Linked DNA regions of Homo sapiens: regions 1 and 3 are each linked to region 2. The links are contacts of gene promoters, found by promoter capture Hi-C in human tissues and cell types (Jung and others, 2019). All regions are on one chromosome and are shown on one strand. The core of a region is centred on a gene start or on the middle of the fragment in contact, and the rest is flanking DNA. Distances in the headings are between cores, read along the strand shown. Region 1 has its middle 7.6 kb from the start of LINC01433. Region 2 holds the start of PANK2 (pantothenate kinase 2). Region 3 overlaps SMOX (spermine oxidase).

Region 1 (3,939 bases), core at 873-3,372, 310 kb before region 2:
GCAGCTGAGGGCTCCCAAGAAGCAGCCCACCTGGGCTTTATACCCCGGAGATACATGATTCACTGGACTAAAGTGTTGAAGGACATCCTGTTTCTTTTTTTTTTTTTTTTCTTGAGACGGAGTCTCGTTCTGTGGTCAAGACTGGAGTGCAGTGGCACGATCTCGGATCACTGCAACCTCCGCCTCCCAGGTTCAAGCGATTTCCCTGCCTGGCCTCCCAAGTAGCTGGGATTACAGGCGTCCAACATCACACCAGGCTAATTTTTTGTATTTTAGTAGAGACGGGGTTTCACCATGTTGGCCAGGTTGGTCTTGAACTCCTGACCTCAGGTGATCCACCCACCTCAGCCTCCCAAAGTGCTGGGATTACAGGCGTGAGCCACCGAGCCCAGACAGGACATCCTGTTTCTGACAAGGACTGGAACAGAGCGCAGGCAGTTGCAGCCAATCCCTCCTTATCACAGGATGTTACATTCCCAGCACATTCTACAGTTATTTTGAGAACTACAAGCAAGAAAGGGGGAAGAGCTGGGTTGGTCCAAGGCCACCAGGAGAACTGTCCTGCACTCTGTATGCTATGTTTCAGTATACAAAGTTGAAGAAAGGCCAGGTGCAGTGTCTCATGCCTGTAATCCTAACACTTTGGGAGGCCAAGTCAGGAGGACTGCTTGAGCCCAGGAGTTCAAAGTGGAAGCCTGGGCAACACAGTGAGACCTTCACTCTAGAAATAATTTTAAAAATTAGCTAGGTGTGGTGGTGCATGCCTGTGGCCCCAGCTACTCAGGAGGCTGAGGTGGGAGGATGGCTTGAGCCCAGAAGATTGAGGCTGCAGTGAGCCATGATCACACCACTGCACTCCAGACTGGGGGACAGAGCAACAGCCTGTCTGGGAAAAAAAAAAAAAGTTGAAGTAAAAATGAGAAAGAATCATAGACCAAAGAGATTTAGGATATAGCAATGGTTCCTAATCAAATCTGTCTATGATGATTCAGGCTGGGCACACCTATAATCCCATCACTTTGGGAGGCAGAGGGGGGTGGACAACTTGAGGTCAGGAGTTCCAGACCAGCCTGGCCAACATGATGAAACCCTATCCCTACTAAAAATAAAAAAAAAAAAAAAAAAAAAAGCCAGGCATAGTGCAGCGTGCCTGTAATCCCAGCTGCTCCCAGAGGCTAAGGCAGGAGAATCACTTGAACCCGGGAGGCGGAGGTTGCAGTGAGCCAAGATAGGCCACTGCACTCCAGCTTGGGTGACAGAGTGAGACTCCATTTCAAAAAAAAGAAAGAAAAAAACATCTCTCTTTGATGATTCAGAAGGTAATCTTCATGCCTCACAGGCATTGCTAAGCTTTTTTATTGAATCCTGGAAGTGTGAAAATTTGATGGTGGAGAATATATTGTAACATAATAACTGTGCAAGGACATAAAATGGCAAGTTTAAGGAAATAGACGTGCGGACAAATTGTCCAAAAAGTTATTCCTAAAATATGGCATACCCCGTGAAATTGATTAATCTGGGTAAGTTCACTGTCCCAGAACCTCTTGAATAAAAGGAAGGCTGGGTACACTTGCCCCACATGCTTTGTTTTGTAAACATCTTCGTTCTACAAAAGTATCTGTGTGATTGTTCACTAGGTAGGAAAAAAAACCTTTCAGAGATTAAAAAACACTGATCACAGTGGGGGCCATGTAGCTAGTAAGTTAATGGAGCTTTGACCGAAGGCTGTCTTGCAGTAGCCCAAGAAATCTGAACCCCTGCAGGGTTAGTTCCCCAGTTCCTGCCTGAAGAGCAAAGGCAGATATCGTTCGCAACAGTCAAGCTCATCTCTTTGGCCCCCTGACTTGTGAAATGAAAGCCATTATGGTAGGAAAAGGTGGCCCCTGATGGAATTAGAGGCAGGAGTTGCTGCCTACATTGAAGAACACAGGGGAAAGACCAATTCAAACCAGTTCTAGGGGTGGCCCTGGGCATCCATGGCTTTTCTTTTTTTTTTTTTTTTTTTTTTTTTGCTCTTATCGCCCAAGCTGGTAGTGCAATGGCGCGATCTTGGCTCACTGCAACCTCCACCTCCTGGGTTCAAGTGGTTCTCCTGCCTCAGCCTCCTGAGTAGCTGGGATTACAGGCATGCGCCACCACACCCAGCTAATTTTTTTTTCTTTTTTTTGAGATGGAGTTTCGCGCTTGTTGCCCAGGCTGGAGTGCAATGGCGCAGCCTCGGCTCACTGCAACCTCCACCCCACGGGTTCAAGCGATCATCCTCCCTCAGTCTCCTGAGTAGCTGGGATTACAGGCTCCCACTACCACGCCCAGCTAATTTGTTGTATTTTTTTTAGTAGAGACGGGGTTTCACCATGTTGGCCAGGCTGGTCTTGAACTCCAAACCTCAGAAGATCCACCCACTTGGGCCTCCCAAAGTGCTGGGATTACAGGCGTGAGCCACTGTGCCTGGCCTAATTTTTGCATTTTTAGTAGAGACGGGGGTTTCACCATGTTGGCCAGGCTAGTCTCGAACTCCTGACCTCAGGTGGTTTGTCCACCTCAGCCTCCCAAAGTGCTGGGATTACAGGCATGAGCCACTGCGCCTGGTCACCCATGGCTTTTAAAGCTCCCAGGTGATTCAATGTGCAGTCAAGGGCAGGAACCACAACTCTAAGTTAAGCCAGGAACACTGAGTTGTTGGTTTCTTAAATCTCCCCAAATGATCCTTATGCCAAGATGAGGAACCAGTGGTGTAAACAGCACATCTCAGACTTTACTGTGCAATCAACTCACCTGGAGCTCGTGTTGGAAAAAAACTCAGGTTCTGATTGAGGTAGGAGGTGGGACTTGACTCCACAGGTGGGGCTAGGACACCACACCAAATTGAGAACTAGCTGAAACAGGAAGAGACAAAAGCATCCCTCCGTAAGACATGTCCATCAGTGTGCCATGTCAGTTTACCATTGCCATGGCAACACCTGAAAGTTACCACCCCTTTCCATGGCAACCACCCAATGATCCAGAAGTTATCACCTTTTTCCTAAAAATGTCTGCAAAATCCACCCCCTTAATTTGCATGTAGTTAAAAGTAGGTATAAATATGACTGCAGGCTGGGCGCGGTGGCTCACGCTTGTAATCCCAGCACTTTGGGAGGCCGAGGCGGGCGGATCACGAGGTCAGGAGATCGAGACCATCCTGGCTAACATGTTGAAACCCCGTCTCTACTGAAAATACAAAAAATTAGCCGGGCGTGGTGGTGGGCGCCTGTAGTCCCAGCGACTCGGGAGGCTGAGGCAGGAGAATGGCGTGACCCGGTAGGCGGAGCTTGCAGTGAGCCGAGATTGTGCCATTGCACTCCAGCCTGGGCGACAGAGCAAGATTCCGTCTCAAAAAAAAAAAAAAAAATGACTGCAGAACTGCCTCTGAGCTGCTCCTCTGGGCACACTGCCTGTGGGGTAGCCCTGCCCCACAAGGAACTGTGCCTTTGCTACTGCTGTGCACTGCCACTTCAGTAAAAGTCGCTGTCTAACACCACCAGCTCACCCTTGAATTCTTTCCTGGGCAAAGCCAAAAACTCATAATGCAGGGCAGCTAAGCCCCAGTTTGGGAGCTCACCTGCCCTGCTTTATGATCCGGCAGGTCTGAGGATGGAGCCTGGGATTCTGATGCTCTAAAAGGCTCCCAGGTGAGGCCAATGCTGCTGATCCACTGAACACACTTAGAAGAGCAAGGCTCTAGACAGGCAAAAGAAATGGAAGGCCACCGCAGCACTGGAACACTCACAGGCCGTGGGGAAGCCCTAACACCTGCCTGCAAAATAACTTAAAGATGGGCAAACTCTCCCTGGGAGGTGAGCTCTAGAAATGTATGACAAGGGGCATGAGGGAGGGAGGGATGTAAGGAGATTATTAACCCCTGCTGTGTGAAAAGCATGAGGCACAGCTGAGCCTCACTAT
Region 2 (4,003 bases), core at 280-2,779:
TCTCAAATAAAACAAAACTAGGTGACTGACTCTGAAAATGGCACAGGTTAAGAATCTGTTTTCCAAATCTGTTGCAAGAAGATGGAAAAAGACAAAAGAACTGAAAACTCCCAAACTTTTCACAGCAAAATAGAACTACATTTAATCATCCATATCAGAGAAGATTCAAAAAAGCAGTTGGGTGACTGGGCTAAGGTAGAAGACTATTCAATAAAAATCTCACATCTTGCCATTTTCCCTCCCTCTCACAATCTGCATTTAAACAAGTCAATTTCCTGAAATAGGAATCTGGCAACACCCACCAAAAAGTCCAACCATATGTAAAATGGCATCACACTGTAAAGCTCATATTACAGTATCAGGACAATTGATACTTTCAACAGCAGCAATGGCTGCCAGGCAGCGGTCCTGAATTGAAGACTTGTAAAGGGGAGAAAATACACAACACAGAAAAAGAAACCTAATAAAATGGGGAAACGGATTCTCTGGGAGGAGCGTATGCAACTCCCAAGGCAAAATTCAGAAAGATGTTGTTTCCCCTCAAAACAAAGAGCCTTAATGCCCAGAATGCCACAGTTCTGAATCGTGAGTACCTGCAAATAGACAGAAGGAAAACGGAGGGGATATGTGGGTGAGAGATGACCTGGATTCTCACGAGAAGAAGGGCAGCCACCTTAGAGGTGCACGGAATACAGTTTCAGGCCTGGTGCAACTCAAGGGGCAGTTCACCATTTTCCAGTAAGCCCGAAATTGACGAATAAAAGGGACTTAAAGTATTAGAGAGCAGCTCTTTGGAAACCCACGGAAAACAAACATTGGGGATTCAAAGGATTTGGGAGGAAAGGAGGTGGAAATGAGTCAAAAGAAGCCTTCTCGAGGATAAAATCATGTGACCCTCAGGAAGAGAATGCCCAAGGAGCTAAGAAAAGGGAGGACAGGTCCTGGGGAAAAGCCCTCCACTCCAACAAGCGGGAAGTGCATACCAATGGGTGCGGGGGGGCCCCCGAAGGTACCGCTTTCGGAGCACCCGAGGCCTCCAGCCGGATGTCAGGCCACGCACCAACGAGGGACCACCGTGCGGGGACAGTGTCCGCGCGCGGGAAAAACGGCGGCGGGGCCGGAAGGGGACAGGGTGGGCCGGAAGGGGGGGCAGGGCGGGCCGGGAGGGCGCCCCACGGAACACTTACGCGGCCGCTTTTTCCTCAGGCTTTCGACGCGCTGGCGGGAGACCGAGGTGGGGCCGCTGTAAGAGCCCAGTCGATCCCGCCTCGTGCCCTCAGCCGAGGCCCCGACCGCGGGCACCGACGCGCTGCTCGCCCGGCGCCGCAGTGGCTCCTGCCGCCGCCCTTCGGGGTCCCCGGCCGCCTGCTCCCCAGCCGACGAGACGGAGGTGGCGGAAGCCCTGCCGTGGCGCTCCATGGGCGCGCCGAGCCGGCCCCCTCCCATCCGCAGCAGCAGTCGCTGCCGCCCGAGCAAGCCCCCCAGCGTCGGATTCCTTCTCGCCTCCTCCGCGGCAGTCCAGCCAGAGCAGAGGCGCGCCCTCGGCCGGCCGCCTCTTCCGTTGCGCCAACGCGCAGGAAGCCAATCCGACGAGGCTGGGGACGGCCCAAAGGCCTCGCGTCCAGTCGGCTCCCTAACTCGAGGAGGATTGACCGTGCCTCCGTCCAATGAGAGGCTATCGTGACGGGGCGGGGAGAGGGTGGTGGAGGAGGGGATCCGGGTTCCGCGGAGGAAGAGAAGGCGGTGTAGCCCAGAAGAGAGTGATGGCGGCGCCGCCCAATGGACGCGTGGGTGGAAGGGCCCGAGCCTCCTCATCCACCCCCTCCTTCCGCCCCCCACTTGTGCATGCCTCTGCCCCCCCGGGCCGCGGAACTCTCCTGGGGCGACCCCGAGTCCCACCCCGCTGCTCCGTGCCGTCCTCGCAGCTCGAGCCCTCCTCCAGCCCAGCAGTGCTCCCGCAGCGTCTGGCCGCTGGTCGTCGGCAGACGAAAGGGCTTGAACCGCGGCTGACCTTAGCCTTTGTCCCTCGGCCTAGTTCCGCAGCTGCCGTCGAGGCCGCCAGCCCCTCCCCCAGCATGTTTGGGCTAAGCCGCCTCCTTTCCGCCTGCGTTGGAGAGAGAGGTACCAGAAGGAATGAAAGGACTGGGGCTTGTCTCCATGGCAACTGAAAGAAAGAGGTGGGTTATAAATCCTTCGCCACCCTCCTGTGGCGAAGGAGGGGAAGTGGGAGCCGGGAAGTAGAGTTGGCCTTTTGCAGGAGAGTCTGGAGCCCCTTTCTGGGTGATGCATTGGGGGCCATAGAAGGATTTGGCTGCCGCTTTGGAGCATGGATTTTTTTTTTAATCATCTTCCTTTCTCTTTTGGAGAGAAAAATTGGTCACCTCCAGGACTGAGACCCTGACCCTTCCAAGCATCCCCACTACCAAAGGCTGCCCAAGCCCGGAAGGATCCCATCCCGTTCTGTACTCTGAGGTCACTTCCTCACTCCGTCAAATTTCACTGGACTGTGGGCTAATTAAAAGTGCCTCCGTATTAGCGGGGCGTGGTGGCCCATGCCTATAATCCCAGCTACTTGGGAAGCTGAGGCAGGAAAATTGCTTGAACCCGGGTGGCGGAGGCTGCAGTGACCCAACATTGTGCAACAAGAGCGAAACTCCGTCTCAAAAAAAATAAAAAATAAAAAAGAGTGCCTCCCTGGGGAGACTGTAATGCCCACTGGGCAGTGATCCTAATGCCCCTTGGGCAGTGATCCTTATTCCCCTCTCCCATAATGATTGGTTGTAGCAGGCTGAACAAAAAGGTTGAGCTTCGCTTGTGCTTGCTGAATAGAATTCTCACGCCCACTCCACGTTAGCTCCCCTCACTGTAGGACTAGCTCTGAAAATTCTAGCTCCTGTAGGAAGCCAACACAGACGGATCTACAAGAACCAAAAACAGCTATAGCTACTCTTCTAAATCTCAGTGCCTGACATTGCCTCTCTTTCTGCCTCCTCTCTCCACCCCCCAAAAAATGTGGTCCTCCTTGACCTGAGGGAGCTTCCGTCCAAGTCTGAGCTCTGATCATCCTGAAGAATCAAAGTATCATCATCCCTTGGCTGGCAAGATGAACTCCAACATCAAAACACTTGAAACAGTAGTATTTTTACACAATTTGCCCACTGCCTCTACATCTCACTTAGTCCTTGCAGTAACATTTGGATGATGAGGTAACTTATCCAGAAGCACAAAGCCTAAAGAATGACAGAGCTTGGACTCCTGAGAAGTTCAGCTACTGCCCGCCTTATGATAACCAAAAGAAAGCGGCCGGGCGCAGTGGCTCAACTCCTGTAATCCCAGCACTTTGGGAGGCCGAGGCGTGCGAATCACAAGGTCAGGAGTCCGAGACCAGCCTGGCCAACACAGGGAAACCCCGTCTCTACTAAAAAAAACAAACACAAAAATTAGTTGGGCGTGGTGGTGGGCACCTGTAATCCCAGCTACTTGGGAGGCTGAGGCAGGAGAGTCACTTGAATCCGGTAGGCGGAGGTTGCAGTGAGCCGAGATCGTGCCACTGCACTCCAGCCTGGGAGACAGTGAGACTCCGTCTCTAAAAAAAAATGAATAAATAAATAAGAAGGCACACCACAAGTTCGAGACCACTTCTACAAAAAATAAAAAATAAAAAAAATTAGGCCAGGCACAGTGGCTCATGCCTGTAATCCAAGCACTTTGGGAGGCTGAGGCGGGCGGATCACTGGAGGTCAGGAGTTTCAGACCAGCCTGGCCCAACATGGTGAAACCCTGTCTCTACTAAAAATACAAAACTTAGCTGGGCGTAGTGGTGCGTGCCTGTAATCCCACTTACTCCAGAAGCTGAGGCAGAAGAACTGCTTGAACCTGGGATGCAGAGGTTGCAGTGAGCTGAGATTGCACCACTGCACTCCAGCCTGGGCAACAGAGTGGGACTCTGCCTCAAAAAAAAAAAAAAAAAGAAAATGAAGATGACCAAATGGGCTTCTAGATG
Region 3 (3,926 bases), core at 57-2,556, 290 kb before region 2:
TGTGTGTGTGTTTAGGGCGCCAGGGGTTGTTGTTTTTTGGTTTTTGTTTTGAGACAGGGTCTCGCTCTGTCACCCAGGCTGGAGTGCAATGGCATGATCTCAACTCACTGCAACCTCCGCCTCCCAGCTTCAAGCAATTCTCATGCCTCAGCCTCCCAAGTAGCTAGAACTACAGGTGTGCACCACCATGCCTGGCTAATTTTGTATTTTTAGTAGAGACAGGGTTTCGCCATGTTGGCCAGGCTGAGAATCTGCATTTCTAACTAGCTCCCAGGTGAGGCTGGTACTGATCTACCTACCCTGAGTAGTGAGGCTGTAATCCCACCACCAAGGAGCCCACAGAGGCTGTTACACTGAAAGGGGTGTTGTATACTGTGTCAGCCTTGACCTCCTGGGCTCAAGTGATCCTCCCACCTCAGCCTCCCAAGTAGCTGGGACCACTCCCACATCCAACCATTCTCCTCTTTCTCCTCAATAACAAAGTCCTGATTTTTAACTGGGTCCATTGCCATCCAGAATAAAAATGATACTGCCCAGCCTCTGTAGCAGCTAGGTGCAGTCATGTGTCTATGTTCTGGCCAATAAGCATTAAAGTGCACTGTTGCTTAGAGACACAGCTGACTCAGCTCCAAGGGTTCCCTTCTTGCCATCTGCCTTTCCTCTTCCTTCTAGCCTAAGATGCAGATGTGAGAACTGGAGCTTCTGCAGCCCTCTTGGACCACAAGATGGTCTTGAAGATGAGAGCCAGGTGCTAATGATACGGGATCCTGCTGCCTGCCTCCAGATTTCCTTTTGATTTTCCTTGTTTAAGTCACAGTTGTGTTTGCTTTGCTTTGCTTTTTGCTACATGCACTAGTCCTAACTGATGCAAGTGAAAAGAGAAGATTTGCTTTTTAGGAGGATGGCTGTGGCAGCAGAAAGGGCCTTTCTGAGGACCTCTCTCTCTTTAAACACCAGCCCTTTTCTCTCTCCATCTGAGCACCGTTGGGCAGGCATAGTAGATGCTGGTTGACTGAACTCTTCTTCACCAATTATACCAAATAATTGTTTTAAATATAACTGTTGAGTTTTAACATTTACTGTGTGTGTCTACTTGATGGGGGAAACTCAAAATCCACTTTATGGGAGCATAAATATATATTTCAGATTTTTTTTTTTTAGTGTACAGTTGGCATATTGTGGAGCATCAGTAATCTAAACTTTATTTTCTGAAATATATTGGGAAAACATTTCCATTGAATCAGTGCTGTCCAATAGGACATTCCTATCGCTATGTACTTTACTATGGTAACCTCTAGCCACATGTGGCTGTTGAACTTGAAATGTGACTAGTGCAACCAAGGAACAAAAACTTTACTGTATTGGCCAAGTGTGGTGGCTCATTCCTATAATCCTAGCACTTCAGGAGGTTGAGGCGGGAGGACAGCTTGAGCCCAAGAGTTCAAGACCAGCCTAGCAGTATGATGAAACCCCATCTCTACCAAAAAAAAAAAAAAAGTACAAAAATTAGCTGGACATGGTGGCGTGCCGGCATGCCTGTGGTCCCAGCTAGTTGGGAGGCTGAGGTGGGAGGATCACTTGAGCCCAGGAGGTCAAGGCTGCAGTGAGCTGTGATCACACCACTATACCCCAGCCTGAAGTGTAGACAGAGCAAGACCCTGTCTCAAAAAAGAAAAAAAAAATACTGTATTAATTTAAATTTTTAATAAATTAATTTAAATTGAAAGTGGCTGATAGCTACCGTATTGGCCAGCACAGCATGGAATAGCTCAGTTTTCATAACATCAAGAAAACATTTTAAGTTTCAATTTGATTCCATTTTTTCTTCCAGATATTAAGTGCACACTTTTTTCCTTGTGTTCTCTCTCATTACAGAAGCTACTCCATCCCTGCCTCACCTGAGCACCCCTTAGTGAACACTACCCTAGCCCTCCTCACCCTGGACCGGACACACATACAAAATACACCCACAACTCCCCTCCTCACCCCAAACGCCCCGCTTACCGCTGTCTTTGAGCTCTCTGTGTACGGCAGGGGCTTGGCCAGCTTCTCCACATCCGCCCCGCTGGAGCCCACCTGCGTGTATGAATAGGAGCCGCGGAAGTAAGGGTTGCTGCCCCAGGCCGAGCGCAAGATTCGCCGAGGTTTTGGAATGTTGGGGTTCCCTGATGGAGAGTCAGAAAAGCCAAGAGGAGGGAGGATAAGAAATGGCTGCATATGGAAGATGACCCCAAAGGGACAACCCCCCACCCCACCTCCAGGGCTCCGGGAGGACCAGACTGCCAGGGGTAGGCACGGAGGATAGAAGAGGAAGGAGGGAGGCTGGGGCTCGAGCTGTGTACCCACTCAGCGCCTCCTGTGACCCCCGGCAAAACGCTCCACCTTACTTTTCCTATCTATCTGAAAACACATGACACATAATCATGTTTCCCCGCCTAATATCGGGGGTTCTCGTGAGGTCCTCCTGGAATAGTGGGTGAAAAATGTTGAGCTGAAAGACTCAGAGAGTAAAAGGCAAATCCAGCTCTTAGCAACAGAGCACAATGGGCGGTGATCTCTGAGTGTTTTACCATCAGCCTTTAGAAAGGGGGAAGAGACACAGCGCCCATAATTCTGAGTGTGTCAAGTTCTAAACTGTCAGCAACTGAAGAGCCTTTGGCTGAATGTGGCACCCTGCAGTGGCTCTCCCGTGGGGCACAGCATCCGAGCTTCACGGTCTGGGGAGGAGAGAGCTGCCATGGGTCCACCAGAGGAGGGCAGGTGAGGAAGAAGCAGGGTGGGGGAAGCGGGTCGTGGGGCACGTGGCGCACCTGTGAACTGACGCAGCATCTCCGTGCAGATCTCGGCCACTGCCTCGTCATCACACTTCTCCATGACGAGGGCCTCCTCCCCGCAGATCCAGCCGCTCAGCACATGGCCGTAGCGCTCAGGCGGGTAGAGGACATCAAAGCCGCAGATCTTGCGGTACCAGAGCTCAGGTGGGTAGGTGAGGGTGTGGCTCTCTGCTTCGTCCTCCCACACAAACTGTAGGCTGTTGCACTCAGGGCCCCAGAAGGGCTCCTCGAATTCCAGAAAGATCTTGTCGGTGGTGCCAATGCCCAGGCGGTGGATGGCAGCCACCTTCTCTGTGGGCAGGCCTGGCCGGAAGAAACTGGTGTACTGCCTCTTTAGCACACCTAGCGACACGGTCACAATCACATGGTCCGCCGGGATCAGCTCACAGTCCTCGCACTCCACCACCACCGACCACTGCTCATCCTCATCCCACCTGCCCCCCCGGGGCTCCTCTCCACCCTGGCCACCCTCCCCAGTGTCGTGATTGTGGTCGCCCTCACCCCGGGGCTCAATCTCAGGGCCTCTGGGGCGGGCTGAGGCCTGGTCCCAGTGAATGCAGCGGACAGGTTTCCCTAGCTGGATGACGTGGGCAGGGATGCCCTCCGCCAGCAGCTCCACAACCCGCATGAAGCCCGAGGGGATGATGTGGTGAGCGCCGGGGATCTCGGTCCACTCCCCGAAGGCGCTCAGGGACACCTCGTCCATGCTGTGTGAGCTGCTCTCACAGCTCTCCACCTGCGGGAAGACCCAAGGAGAAGCCAGGTGACCGCCGGGGTTGGGCAGGGGTAGGAGCAGCGTAGCCCTCCTCAGACCCAGACGCCCCCAGAATCCGTCTTCCTCAAGATACCTTCAGGTACTGCTGGATCATGGCGAGCTTCAGGCGCTTGGTAGCCTCTGGGTCGTCAGGGTCATTCCTGATGCGGTTACGCACCTCCTCTCGGGTGAACACCCCCACGCTATTTTGACTTTCAGCATTGACTGGTTTATCGTGCCGGAAGAACTCCTGGGTCAAGTTATAGACCTGCCAGAGAGACCCCATGAGACTGAAAACACCTCATCACACCTCCATCTCAAACAGAAGGCCCCCAACC

Evidence for each region. The method cuts DNA at HindIII sites, captures the fragments that hold promoters and counts their contacts. A contact is called where the count stands out against the background at its distance.
Region 1: a contact is called between a fragment that was not itself captured here and the fragment with the promoter of PANK2 in region 2, in 1 of the 25 tissues and cell types used here (IMR-90 fibroblasts).
Region 3: a fragment that was not itself captured here is called in contact with the fragment with the promoter of PANK2 in region 2 in 2 of the 25 tissues and cell types used here (hippocampus and small bowel).

Annotation. Positions count from the first base shown.
Region 1 is chr20:4,198,731-4,202,669 of GRCh38, reverse strand. No RefSeq gene overlaps it. Among named protein-coding and RNA genes, the nearest start is that of LINC01433, 7.6 kb to the right of the region's middle. RefSeq lists a silencer at 391-591. The HindIII fragment of the contact is 3,341 bases long and covers 452-3,792 here.
Region 2 is chr20:3,886,913-3,890,915 of GRCh38, reverse strand. It overlaps PANK2 (pantothenate kinase 2), which reads right to left and starts at 1,529. Exons shown (of 7, transcript NM_001386393.1): 1 at 1,188-1,529. The coding sequence starts at 1,485. It overlaps PANK2-AS1 (PANK2 antisense RNA 1), which reads left to right and starts at 1,743. Exons shown (of 2, transcript XR_001754478.3): 1 at 1,743-2,177; 2 at 2,367-4,003. RefSeq lists silencers at 1,145-1,644, 1,835-1,894 and an enhancer at 1,903-2,454. The HindIII fragment of the contact is 29,664 bases long and covers 1-4,003 here.
Region 3 is chr20:4,181,733-4,185,658 of GRCh38, reverse strand. It overlaps SMOX (spermine oxidase), which reads right to left. Exons shown (of 7, transcript NM_175839.3): 4 at 3,683-3,856; 5 at 2,811-3,570; 6 at 2,005-2,165. Among named protein-coding and RNA genes, the nearest start is that of LINC01433, 9.4 kb to the left of the region's middle. The HindIII fragment of the contact is 6,680 bases long and covers 1-3,926 here.